2 separate regions of the Homo sapiens genome follow, and region 2 is linked to region 1. The links are contacts of gene promoters, found by promoter capture Hi-C in blood cells and fetal thymus (Javierre and others, 2016). All regions are on one chromosome and are shown on one strand. Each heading gives the region's core, a stretch centred on a gene start or on the middle of the fragment in contact. The rest is flanking DNA. Distances are from core to core; before and after follow the strand shown. Region 1 holds the start of HTR6 (5-hydroxytryptamine receptor 6). Region 2 overlaps CAPZB (capping actin protein of muscle Z-line subunit beta).

What was found. Contacts are between HindIII fragments. The CHiCAGO score rates a contact against its expected background, and 5 or more counts as called.
Region 2: a contact is called between a fragment that was not itself captured here and the fragment with the promoter of HTR6 in region 1, in 7 of 17 cell types (naive CD4 T cells, total CD8 T cells, activated CD4 T cells and 4 more). The highest score is 8.1, in naive CD4 T cells.

The regions. Positions count from the first base shown.
Region 1 is chr1:19,662,308-19,667,610 of GRCh38, forward strand. It overlaps HTR6 (5-hydroxytryptamine receptor 6), which reads left to right and starts at 2,568. Exons shown (of 3, transcript NM_000871.3): 1 at 2,568-4,160. The coding sequence starts at 3,447. RefSeq lists a silencer at 2,382-2,611 and enhancers at 2,390-3,362, 3,363-4,333. The HindIII fragment of the contact is 8,359 bases long and covers 1-5,303 here.
Region 2 is chr1:19,399,479-19,404,781 of GRCh38, forward strand. The region is part of intron 2 of CAPZB (capping actin protein of muscle Z-line subunit beta); the gene reads right to left. Among named protein-coding and RNA genes, the nearest start is that of CAPZB, 83 kb to the right of the region's middle. RefSeq lists enhancers at 1,703-2,382, 3,061-3,738. The HindIII fragment of the contact is 1,299 bases long and covers 1,893-3,191 here.

The sequences.
Region 1 (5,303 bases), core at 1,318-3,817:
ACAGATTTTTACAAAGCAACATTTATCAGGCAAAATTTTTTACTCATCTCATTCACAGCTCCACTGCCTTGGTTTCATAGCAGCAGAGAATTTAAGAGGCTTTGCACAACTTCACAGAGCAAGTGGCAGACTCTGGATGATGAACCCAGGATGCTGGGCTCCAAAATCCTTCCACACAGCACCTCTCAGGGTTGCAGCTGTTCACGTCAGAAATCCCTGGGCTCAAGGAGTTAGCACAGAGCTGAATGCATTACGATTGTGCTGATGGGAACACTAAAGCCAAGAGCTAGGTTTTTTTTTTGTTTTTTTGTTTTTTTGTTTTTTTTTTTTTTAGATGGAGTTTCGCTGTTTTTGCCCAGGCTAGAGTGCAGTGGTGTGATCTCAGCTCACTGCAACCTCTGCCTTGTGGGTTCAAGTGATTCTCCTGCCTCAGCCTCCTGAGTAGCTGGGATTATGGGCGTGCATCACTACACCTGGCTAATTTTGTATTTTTAGTAGAGACGGGGTTTCATCATATTGACCAGGCTGGTCTCGAACTCCTGACCTCAGGTGATCTGCCCGCCTTGGCCTCCCAAAGTGTTGGGATTACAGGCGTGAGCCACTGTGCCCGGCCAGCTAGTGTTAACATAGTATCAAAGACACAGATTACATCAGTGTCATTTAATCCCCTCAGCTACTCTGTGAGGTGGGTGCCATATTGTTCTGCTAACTATTACAGAAGAGAAAGCTGTGACCCAAGGAGATGGAGCCACTGGCCCTGTAATCCCAGAGCTGGGATGGAGCGGGGATCCCAAGCCATGTGTTTCTGACTCTCTGCCCAGGCTTGCTGTACTACGTTCTGTTCCTTGGGGGCATGGCAGAAATCGTCACAGTGGTGCAGTGTGGTGGCAAGGAGGAAGGACAGGCCTCCTCTATCTGCTTAAAAGATGCTTCTGTGGGCAAGGCTGGGGCTCTGAGCACCAAATAGCAGCTTAGAGTTGGCGGGTGGGTGCTGCAGGCTCTGAGGTGCCTGAGGGGAGGTTTTTGACCATCTGTAATGGGCTCTCTTTGCCATGGGCATCGAGCAGATCTGGGTTTCAGGTCCACTTCACCACTTGCTGCTGGTGATCTGGGGCAAGGCCCTTGGCCTCTCTGAACCCCAGTTTAACGTCTACCTCTCAGCATTATTGTAGGGGTCGGAATAAATAACTGGAGGAGTAGGAACCGTACAACAAAGCCCCTGGGGACAGCGCAGGAGCCTTCGATTTGGAAAGTATTATTTTTCTGTTTCTGTGGAGAAAAAATGATCCCACCCCGTTCTCTTTATACTACATTTTCTTTTTCTCTTTCTCTTCTTTCTTTCTCTTTCTTTCCTTTCTCTCTTTCTTTCTTTCCTTTTTTTTTTTTTTTTTTTTTTTTTTTTTGACAGAGTCTTGCTCTGTCACCCAGGCTGGAGTGTGCAGTGGCACAATCTTGGCTCACTGGAACCTCTGCCTCCCAGGTTCAAGCAATTCTCCTGCCTCAGCCTCCCGAATAGCTGGGATTACAGGCTCCCGCCACCACGCCCAGCTAATTTTTGTATTTTTGATAGAGACGGGGTTTTACCATGTTGGTCAGGCTGGTCTCGAACTCCTGACCTCAGGTGATCTGCCCACCTCCGCCTCCCAAAGTGCTGGGATTACAGGCGTGAGCCACCTCGCTGGGCCCACTTTCTCTGTTGATTATGCTTATTGTTTATTGTCTGTTTCTTCCACTAGAATGTAAGCTCCATGGAGGTGCGGATCTTTGTTTTGGCCACTGTAGTGTCCTGATGGGTCAGAACAGTGCCTGACATCTAGTGGATGCGCCTTAAAAGATGCATTGAAGTATCTGTTCAATGAATGAATGAATAACAGTATTAACCTGCACAGCAGTGTTAGGCAGAGACTCTTCTCAGCCAGAGGGGAGACGTACAGAGGGAGGTCACACCCAGGGGAAACCACACCCCACGCCTCTGCCTGCAGCGACTCTTAACACACCTGGCCTGGGGATTCTCAAATCTGTTCACGCTCTGTTAGACTAGGAGCGCCAACAGCTCAGGGACTTCATCCTTAGTACCTGGCCCCTTTGGGGATCGGGATGGTTTCTGCGGGAAAGGCCCTGGGGAAGGTTAGCTTCTTGCTCAAACTAACGGTGAAGAATGCCCAGAATTACTAACCCATTTTACAGATATGGCAACTGAGGCCCAGAGGGGTGTCAGGCGATTTGTCCAATATTTCCCAACTCCTGGCTCCCCTGAAAGCCCGGTGACCCCGTTGTGAGTGGGCAGGCACCCATTAGAGAGCAGCCCCTGGATAAGGGCAGGTCACAGCCCCCTGCTCCCAGTTCCGCCTGCGCCGCCGCCACGTGTGGGTTGGGAGGGGCATCTGAGGGTGTGGGGGCTGCCACAGCCCGGGAGGTGACCCCTCGCAGCTGGGGCGCTCTGATCTTCGGCCCACAGGCCCGGGGTGCCGGGACCCCGCCCTCCTGCAGGGCCAGGGCTCGGCTCTCCCCGCCCACCGCGAGGCGGGGCGCACGCTCCGCGGCGCGGGGACCGCGCGCTCCAGGCTGCACCCGGCCTCTCCTCCGCGCGTGCGGGCCCCTCGCGGCGCCTCCCGGGCTCGGGAGACCCGGTCCCGCCGCCCGCCCGGCCCGCGGCCGCCTCTTCCTCTCGCAGCCCCGCGGCGCTTGCCGCAGTCGCAGGCGGCGGAGCAGCCAGAGCGCCCCAGGTACCAGTGCGGGCGGGAGACGGAGGCGACCCTGCTGCCGGGTGGGGAGGGGGCGCCGCGCGGCCGCTGCCCTCCTCTTCCCGCGGGGCCTGGCGGCCCCGGCGAACCCCCGCGCCGCACAGGCCGTGTGCGCCGGATCCCGGTGCCTCCGCGCCAGCTGAGACCTGCCTTTCCCAGGGGCGGCTTTGCTCCGGCCCCTAGGCCCCCGCCCTGGTACCCCACACGCCCACCGGCCGCGGGGAGCCTGCTCCGGCCCGAGAGCGCCCATTCACCCCCCTCACCCACCTCCCCGCGTTCCCACTTCCCCGCACTCTGACCCGGCCGGACGCCCCTCCCCTATCTTGCCGCCCGCCCCCTCCAGGGGGCTCTGCTCCCACCCCAGGGAGCCCATCCGACCTCTGCTTGACTTCCCGCCGCTTCCTTCAGGGGCCTCGGCTCATCGGGTGCCCCTCCCCAAACTTCCAACCCGTTTGCTCCAGGAGTTCCTGCCCCATCCCCGAGGGCGCCCAAATAGCCACACTGTGTCCTCCTGTAGTCGCTGCCCCCTGACCTAGCGCGACCCAGCGCCCCCGCCCATGTCCCCCCACTCACCTCCCCCGGGGGGCGTGGTGAGTCGCGGTCTGTTCTCACGGACGGTCCCCGTCCAGCCTGCGCTTCGCCGGGGCCCTCATCTGCTTTCCCGCCACCCTATCACTCCCTTGCCGTCCACCCTCGGTCCTCATGGTCCCAGAGCCGGGCCCAACCGCCAATAGCACCCCGGCCTGGGGGGCAGGGCCGCCGTCGGCCCCGGGGGGCAGCGGCTGGGTGGCGGCCGCGCTGTGCGTGGTCATCGCGCTGACGGCGGCGGCCAACTCGCTGCTGATCGCGCTCATCTGCACTCAGCCCGCGCTGCGCAACACGTCCAACTTCTTCCTGGTGTCGCTCTTCACGTCTGACCTGATGGTGGGGCTGGTGGTGATGCCGCCGGCCATGCTGAACGCGCTGTACGGGCGCTGGGTGCTGGCGCGCGGCCTCTGCCTGCTCTGGACCGCCTTCGACGTGATGTGCTGCAGCGCCTCCATCCTCAACCTCTGCCTCATCAGCCTGGACCGCTACCTGCTCATCCTCTCGCCGCTGCGCTACAAGCTGCGCATGACGCCCCTGCGTGCCCTGGCCCTAGTCCTGGGCGCCTGGAGCCTCGCCGCTCTCGCCTCCTTCCTGCCCCTGCTGCTGGGCTGGCACGAGCTGGGCCACGCACGGCCACCCGTCCCTGGCCAGTGCCGCCTGCTGGCCAGCCTGCCTTTTGTCCTTGTGGCGTCGGGCCTCACCTTCTTCCTGCCCTCGGGTGCCATATGCTTCACCTACTGCAGGATCCTGCTAGCTGCCCGCAAGCAGGCCGTGCAGGTGGCCTCCCTCACCACCGGCATGGCCAGTCAGGCCTCGGAGACGCTGCAGGTACCTGGGGTGCGCAGGGAGACCCGGGCTGTGGGATAGAGAGGAATGAGCAGCCCCTGGGGACCCCCTGGGCATCCCCACTTAGCACACATTTGCTCATGGCCCTGCGTGGCTGTTGTGAGCGCCCACCTTTCTTCTGAACTCCAGAGCCAATGCCTGACCCACCCACCACAGGATAGCTCCGTCAGGATTTGGGGGCAGGCTTCTCCCAGGTACCATGTACAACAGGGAATTTATGGTGGCCCAACTCTCCCCATCTTTGCCTCCCTGGTCTTCCCCATCATGGCAAATGGCACCATTGCGGCATCACATGCCAGGAACTTAGGAATACTTTTCTCCCTCACCCTCATGCCATTCATTAGCGAGACCTGTTGGCGCTGCTCTAAACAGGTGCCATCTCCCCTGCCACTTCCTACCGGGGAGGCTGTGTAGACTTCTCCTGGCTCCCCTGCTTCTGCCGCAGACCCAGTACTCTCCATCTTCTGCATAGAAGCTGGAGCACTTAAAAAAGAAGTGATCATGTCACTCCCCTGCTTCAGACTCTTCAGGCTTCCCACCGTGCTCCAGATAAAGAAAACCTGTCTCAGGATCTGGCCTCAGGATCCCACACTGCCATCCTCTCCAGTGTCACCTCCCCTCTCCCTCTCTCTTACTCTGCAACAGCCTTGTGGCCTTTCTCACGGTTCTAGAAGGCACTGGGCTTACTTCTGTGCCCAGGTCTTTGCACTTGCTGTTCCCTGTGCCTGGAATGTTCTTCCCCCGGCTGCCTTCTTCCCAGGGGCCATCTTTGACCACCCTATCTGCAGGCCCATCTGCACTCTCCATCCCTGTTATTCTCCATAAGAACAAGTCATAAAAATGACTTGTTCATTTTGCCTCCCTGACTTGAATATAAGCTCCAGGAGGGTCACACATATTGAGATCAGTTTTTTTGCTTTTTTTTTTGTTTTTGTTTTTGTTTTTTTTGAGACGGAGTCTCGCTCTGTTGCCCAGGCTGGAGGGCAGTGGTGCGATCTTGGCTCACTGCAACCTCTGCCTCATGGGTTTAAGCGATTCTTCTGCCTCAGCCTCCTGAGTAGCTGGGATTACAGGCACCCACCACTATACCAGGCTAACTTTTGTATTTTTGGTAGAGATGGGGTT
Region 2 (5,303 bases), core at 1,292-3,791, 260 kb before region 1:
AGAGCTTTTCCTACATCAAAATAAACCAAGGTACTGCAGGGACTTGCCACTGGCCTGGAAGTCAGAGCTGGTTCTGCCATGAAACGGTGCTACATGGGGCATGGGCCACAGCTCCCTGGTCTCTGCAATGGATGGTTCTCTGAGAGAGGAGCACTTTGAGGGCTGTGAGTACAGAGGGAGGAGCTCAGGGTGTCAAGAGTGGGAGAGGAAGTCTGGGCCTACCACCTTCTACCTGGTTTATTCAAGTTCTAAGATTTTGCTTAAAAAAAGGGCTGTACCAATTTTCCAAATGTTTGAAAACCACTAGATGAGATAATCGGTAAGGTTCATTTTAGTGTTGACATCCTACGAAGTTTCATAGTTCAAGACTTGAGAGTTACTCAAAAGTTTGTGTCATCCCTCCTAAAACAAACCTTTACTAAGCAAGGTACTCTGAGGCTCAAACCAACTGTGGACTGCCCAGCTCTTCGGTTCACAGCCTTAGGACACAGATGCAAGCAGCTGAGTGAGTTATTCACAAGAAGGGGAAGAAGGAAAAGGCTTGGAACCCATAATCTTCTCCCCTGAATGCCATGTTCAAATTTAAACTCTTAGGGAATTTCTATATTTGTATACAGAATCCAAATTCCCTTCTCTTTTCTCTTCCAGGAGAGATTCCGAGCCCACCCCTTGCCTGCCTCCGAGACCTCAACACCATCCTGCTTACTAAAGGGAGCCCAGTTTTTCCCGCTACCCATGGCACAGGTCTTCGTCAATTTCAGTGTGCCCTTCATGAATCTGGCATGTGGTCACTGGCAGTTAAAGGGGGTGATGATGGAGAGGAGAAACCCCAGGCTCCAACTACAAAACCCTGCGGGACACGCAGGCTCCTCTGGGCTTCCCGGCCCACATTCCTGGCCTATTTCAAACATCAGGGAAGCAGACTGAGCGTGCCATGCCCTCCTCAAGTATTTTTAACCTGTTTCCAAAACCAGACATGTTCTAAGGGGGGCGACCCAGGAATTCCTCATCCAGGGCCAGTGCCTGCCAACCGCGAGATGTTGGCTTTCTAACAGCTCTGAGGAGGGAGTTGTTGTCTGCCTTTTCTGGCACGTGGGGAAGTGGGATCTCTCTCCAATTCACTTTTACGTCTCACATTTCTCATCAACCAGAGGGCAGGATCTAACTTAAAGTGAGAGTCTTCAGACCATCCTCAATGGAAGCTCTCCAAACACTGTTCTCCGGCTTCCAACAACAACAGGAGTCCATAAGGTTCCCCAAATGAAGGACCTGGATAGATCTTGTAGGAAAAAAAATCCTATGAGGACAAGGCCAAGGAACGGGCCTATATGCACTTCACTTGAATTATGCCTCCTGGCTCTAGGTGACAAGAGCCATCTTTTTCACCACTGGAGAGCTCAGCCTCCTACCACCTTGCCCCGATCCTGACCTGGTTCAGATTCCTCGCTAACATACTTCTCTCACCTTGTAGCACTGTTGCACATTGAACAGGAGGGAAAAGCTCTTTTGTTCATTTTCCTTAGAATGGAACCAAAATGATACTCCAGTAGCTCCATCTAAAAGCTCAAGTGGCAGCTAACAGCACGGACACCAGGGGCATCCCTTGCCAGCTTCCAATGCCATGGTGAGAGACACTCATCATGGTTTAAAAAAAGACCAGAGAGCATTTTCACAAGCAATTCCTAAGAGACTTAAATTTCCTACACATAGGCAGAATAAAAACCAAAAAGGAAAAAAAAAAAACTTCCCCCAAACAAAAGTGAGGGCTTTCAAGGAGACTTGCTGAGTGGGCAAACATTTTGGAAAGATGGAATTTTAAACACAAACACAAAAGGGCAAAGATTTGCAGCAGAAGAGCTATGCACACAGCCGGGAGGACTTTAATTAGGGAAAGCTTTGCAAAGCCCAGGGAGCATCAGCATCGGCAAATCTCCCCTTGGTCTCCGGAATGGAAAGAATGTGGAAACCAATGGGTGATCAAGGAGTTCGAATTTTGCCTGACACTCTTGCTGGGAATGAAGCATGCAGTCCTGTCTTTTGCCACCTTTTCAGCAGCCTCAGGTGAGCCTTTTAAAAAGGTGAAAAACGAAGGACCACCTAGCCTGGGAGAAGCCAGGGTGGATCCTCTCCTTCCTAGGGTGCTTCCTGCAGATGGCACACAGCCAAAGCTCTTCTGGTGTTTTAAGGCAGAAACAGAATTCAGGGGAGGACTAAACAACCCCTTTAGAGCTACGTGCTGTGTTTTTTGTTTGCATTTTTCCAAGTCCAGGCATTTTTCCAGGTATTTCCAATGAGACTGAAATGGCCTACACATAGGCTGACGACCTATAATAACATAAGAAAGTGATGTTGGCCCCCTGCTCCACCCAGAGGGGACATCTGCTTATTTGGCTTCCAGGTGGTGGGAGCAGTGGTTTTCCCCAAACAGCTAATACCCTTCAATTCTTTGCTTTCTGTATCATGAAGTTCACTGGAGTTTGGAGCACAGACTCTTTAAACCAGTAATTTAACTCTACTTTTGAGGATACCCTATGCCCCCAGCAGTTATGAGAAGGGTTGCCAAATCTTAACTCATAAGGGTGACAGGATCAGGAACAAAGGCCTGGACTCTCCACCCTTCTCCTCTGCCAAAATCTACGAGTTCAGGAAAATGGCAAGCCAGGAGTTTACTTTAGGTTCCCTCAAGAGCAGCAGCTGTTCCCACCAGGGCTGCGAAGGAATCAACAGGAACTGAGAGAACACCTGAATGGTCTGATTCAGAAAGTCCCAGCTCCCTGTGAGGTCAATAAAGAACTTTGTCTCAACAGAGGCAACAAGGCCACTGCCTCCTAGGAAAGGACTGATGTGGGCTTTTCTAGAGGCAGGCAGGCTCTTGGATCAACAGGCTTACAAGGGCACATTTCTCAGTTACGATCTTAAAATTGCAGGGAACCTGCTGATCTCTGTCCCTTACCCATCTAGAAAGTCTGAGTGGGAGCTAACAGCTGATCCTCAGCAAAACCAGAGTGTGCGCCCATCACCTGCTTTCTGGTAAGGGACCCATGTGGCCTGAATCAAAACTCAAAGCTCACTAGACACCAATTCACACGCTCTATCTAATCAGGCAGAAACCCAGCTGCTCCTGCTCAGTCCCTGCCCAGCTAGTACCTTCCCACCACCCACCAGCTGTATCTCAGGCTCTGCCCACTCTAAGCTTTCCCTGGGATTTGCCTGCCAAGGGTGGGCCACGGTGTCCTCTGTGGTGCTCTGCAGTGCCCATGTTCCTCACATCAGAAGCCTTGCATTCTGGCTGGGAGCGGTGGCTCACCTCTGTAATCCCAGCACTTTGGAAGGCCGAGGCGGGTAGATCACCTGAGGTCAGGAGTTCGAGACCAGCATGGCCAACATGGTGAAACTCCATCTCTACTAAAAATACAAAAAATTAGCTGGGGGTGGTGGCAGGCACCTGTAATCCCAGCTACTTGGGAGGCTGAGGCAGGAGAATTGCTTGAACCAGGGAGGCAGAGGTTGCAGTGAGCCAAGATTGTGCCATCACACTCCAGCCTGGGCAACAAGAACAAAACTCCATCTCTAAAACAAAACAAAAAAAAAGAAGCCTTGCATTCTATCCATCCTGGGTTATCTGGCTCCCACCGTGGCTATGAGCTCTTTAAAGACACAACTATTCTGTTGTCACTCTGACCCTGGTGCTTCAGCTTAGGCAGGGCCTTGCATTCATGGGGGCTCAAGTAGGCATGCACTCACTGAATGTCCGCTTCAGGCTTGACAGTGGGGATACAAAGGTGAACAAAAGAAAAGATCCCTGCCCTCCAAGAGCCAAAGCTCCTAGGATGGAGCAAGTCCAAGAGACAGGAGAAGCAAGGGGCATGCTGGGGGGCAGGGTGAGGGAAGTGAGGCTCCAGCGGAGATGGGAAGATGAGCAGTTAGAGGGAGCAGAGTTGGTGTGGACATGTGTCCCAGTCAAGGAAACGGCATGTACAAAGATGCAACAAGACAGGGCACAGGCCTGGGAGTGTGCAAGACAAGGAGACAGGAGGAAGGGGCAGGGCCAGATCAAGAGCTCTTCCACCTAGATGTGTTCTCCGGGCTTGATCCCGACAATGTGGAGTCATTAAGGGACATTATCCGAAGTGCATTTTGGCAAGACTACTCTGTATGCAGAGCAGGCAGGGGATGACAGGCAGGAAGGCCTGTCTACAGGCTATTATAACACTCCAGTAATGCAGGGAGGAGCAGTAGCAATAAACATTCATTGAACTGCTCTAAAATGAGGATTGGGACATACCTTCACCCAACAGGCTGGATAAGGTGGATGGCACTCTGTAAAAAAGTGACCCCGCTTTGGGCAGGTGGAACTACATCTCCACTGGCCTTCAGCAGCCTGAGCTGCACCCAGTGCCCCTTCTGCCTGCCTCCCTCCTGGACTCCAGCCGCAGTTCCTCCCTGTCACATGCCCTACTTAACGCCTGCAGCATCAAGACTCAAGAGGTTGAAGTACAAGAGGTAACAGTAGTAGGCCGGGCACGGTGGCATCACTTGAGGTCGGGAGTTTGAGACTAGCCTGGCCAACATGGTGAAATCTCGTCTCTACTAAATATACAAAAATTAGCTGGCTATAGTGGTACACACCTGTAGTCCCAGCTACTCGGGAGGCTGAAGCAGGAGAATCGCTTGAATTGGGCAGGCAGAAGTTGCAGTGAGCCAAGATCGTACAACTGCACTCCAGCCTGGGAGACAGACTGAGACTCCATCTCAAAAAAAAAAAAAAAAAAAAAAAAAATATGGCTGGGCGCAGTGGCTCATGCCTGTAATCTCAGCACTTTGGGAGGCCGAGGCAGGCAGATCACTTGAGGTCAGGAGTTTGAAACCAGCCTGGCCAAATTGGTAAAACCGCATCTCTACTAAAAATACAAAACTTAGCCAGGCACGGTGGTACAGGCCAGTAGTTCCAGCTATTCCAGACGCTGAGGCTGGAGAATCACTTGAACTCGGGAGGTGGAGGCTGCAGTGAGACGAGATCACGCCACTGTACTCCAGCCTGGGTGACAGAGCAAAACTCCATGTTAAAAAAAAAAAAAAAAAAAAAGAGGTAATGGGAAAAATGCTCGCTTGTCATTGCAAGATCTGAGCTCACCTCACAGTCCCTCTCCCACCTGGAAGAAGGCAGGACATTTCAGAGCCCGATCAAGCAGCATTCACCCACCTATCTGGCCAAACAGGGAAACGCAGGCTGCTTTTGACAAGGGGCACGCACCCTCCTCCTTAAAAGGACAGCTCAGCAATCATGGGAAAGCAGTGGATTC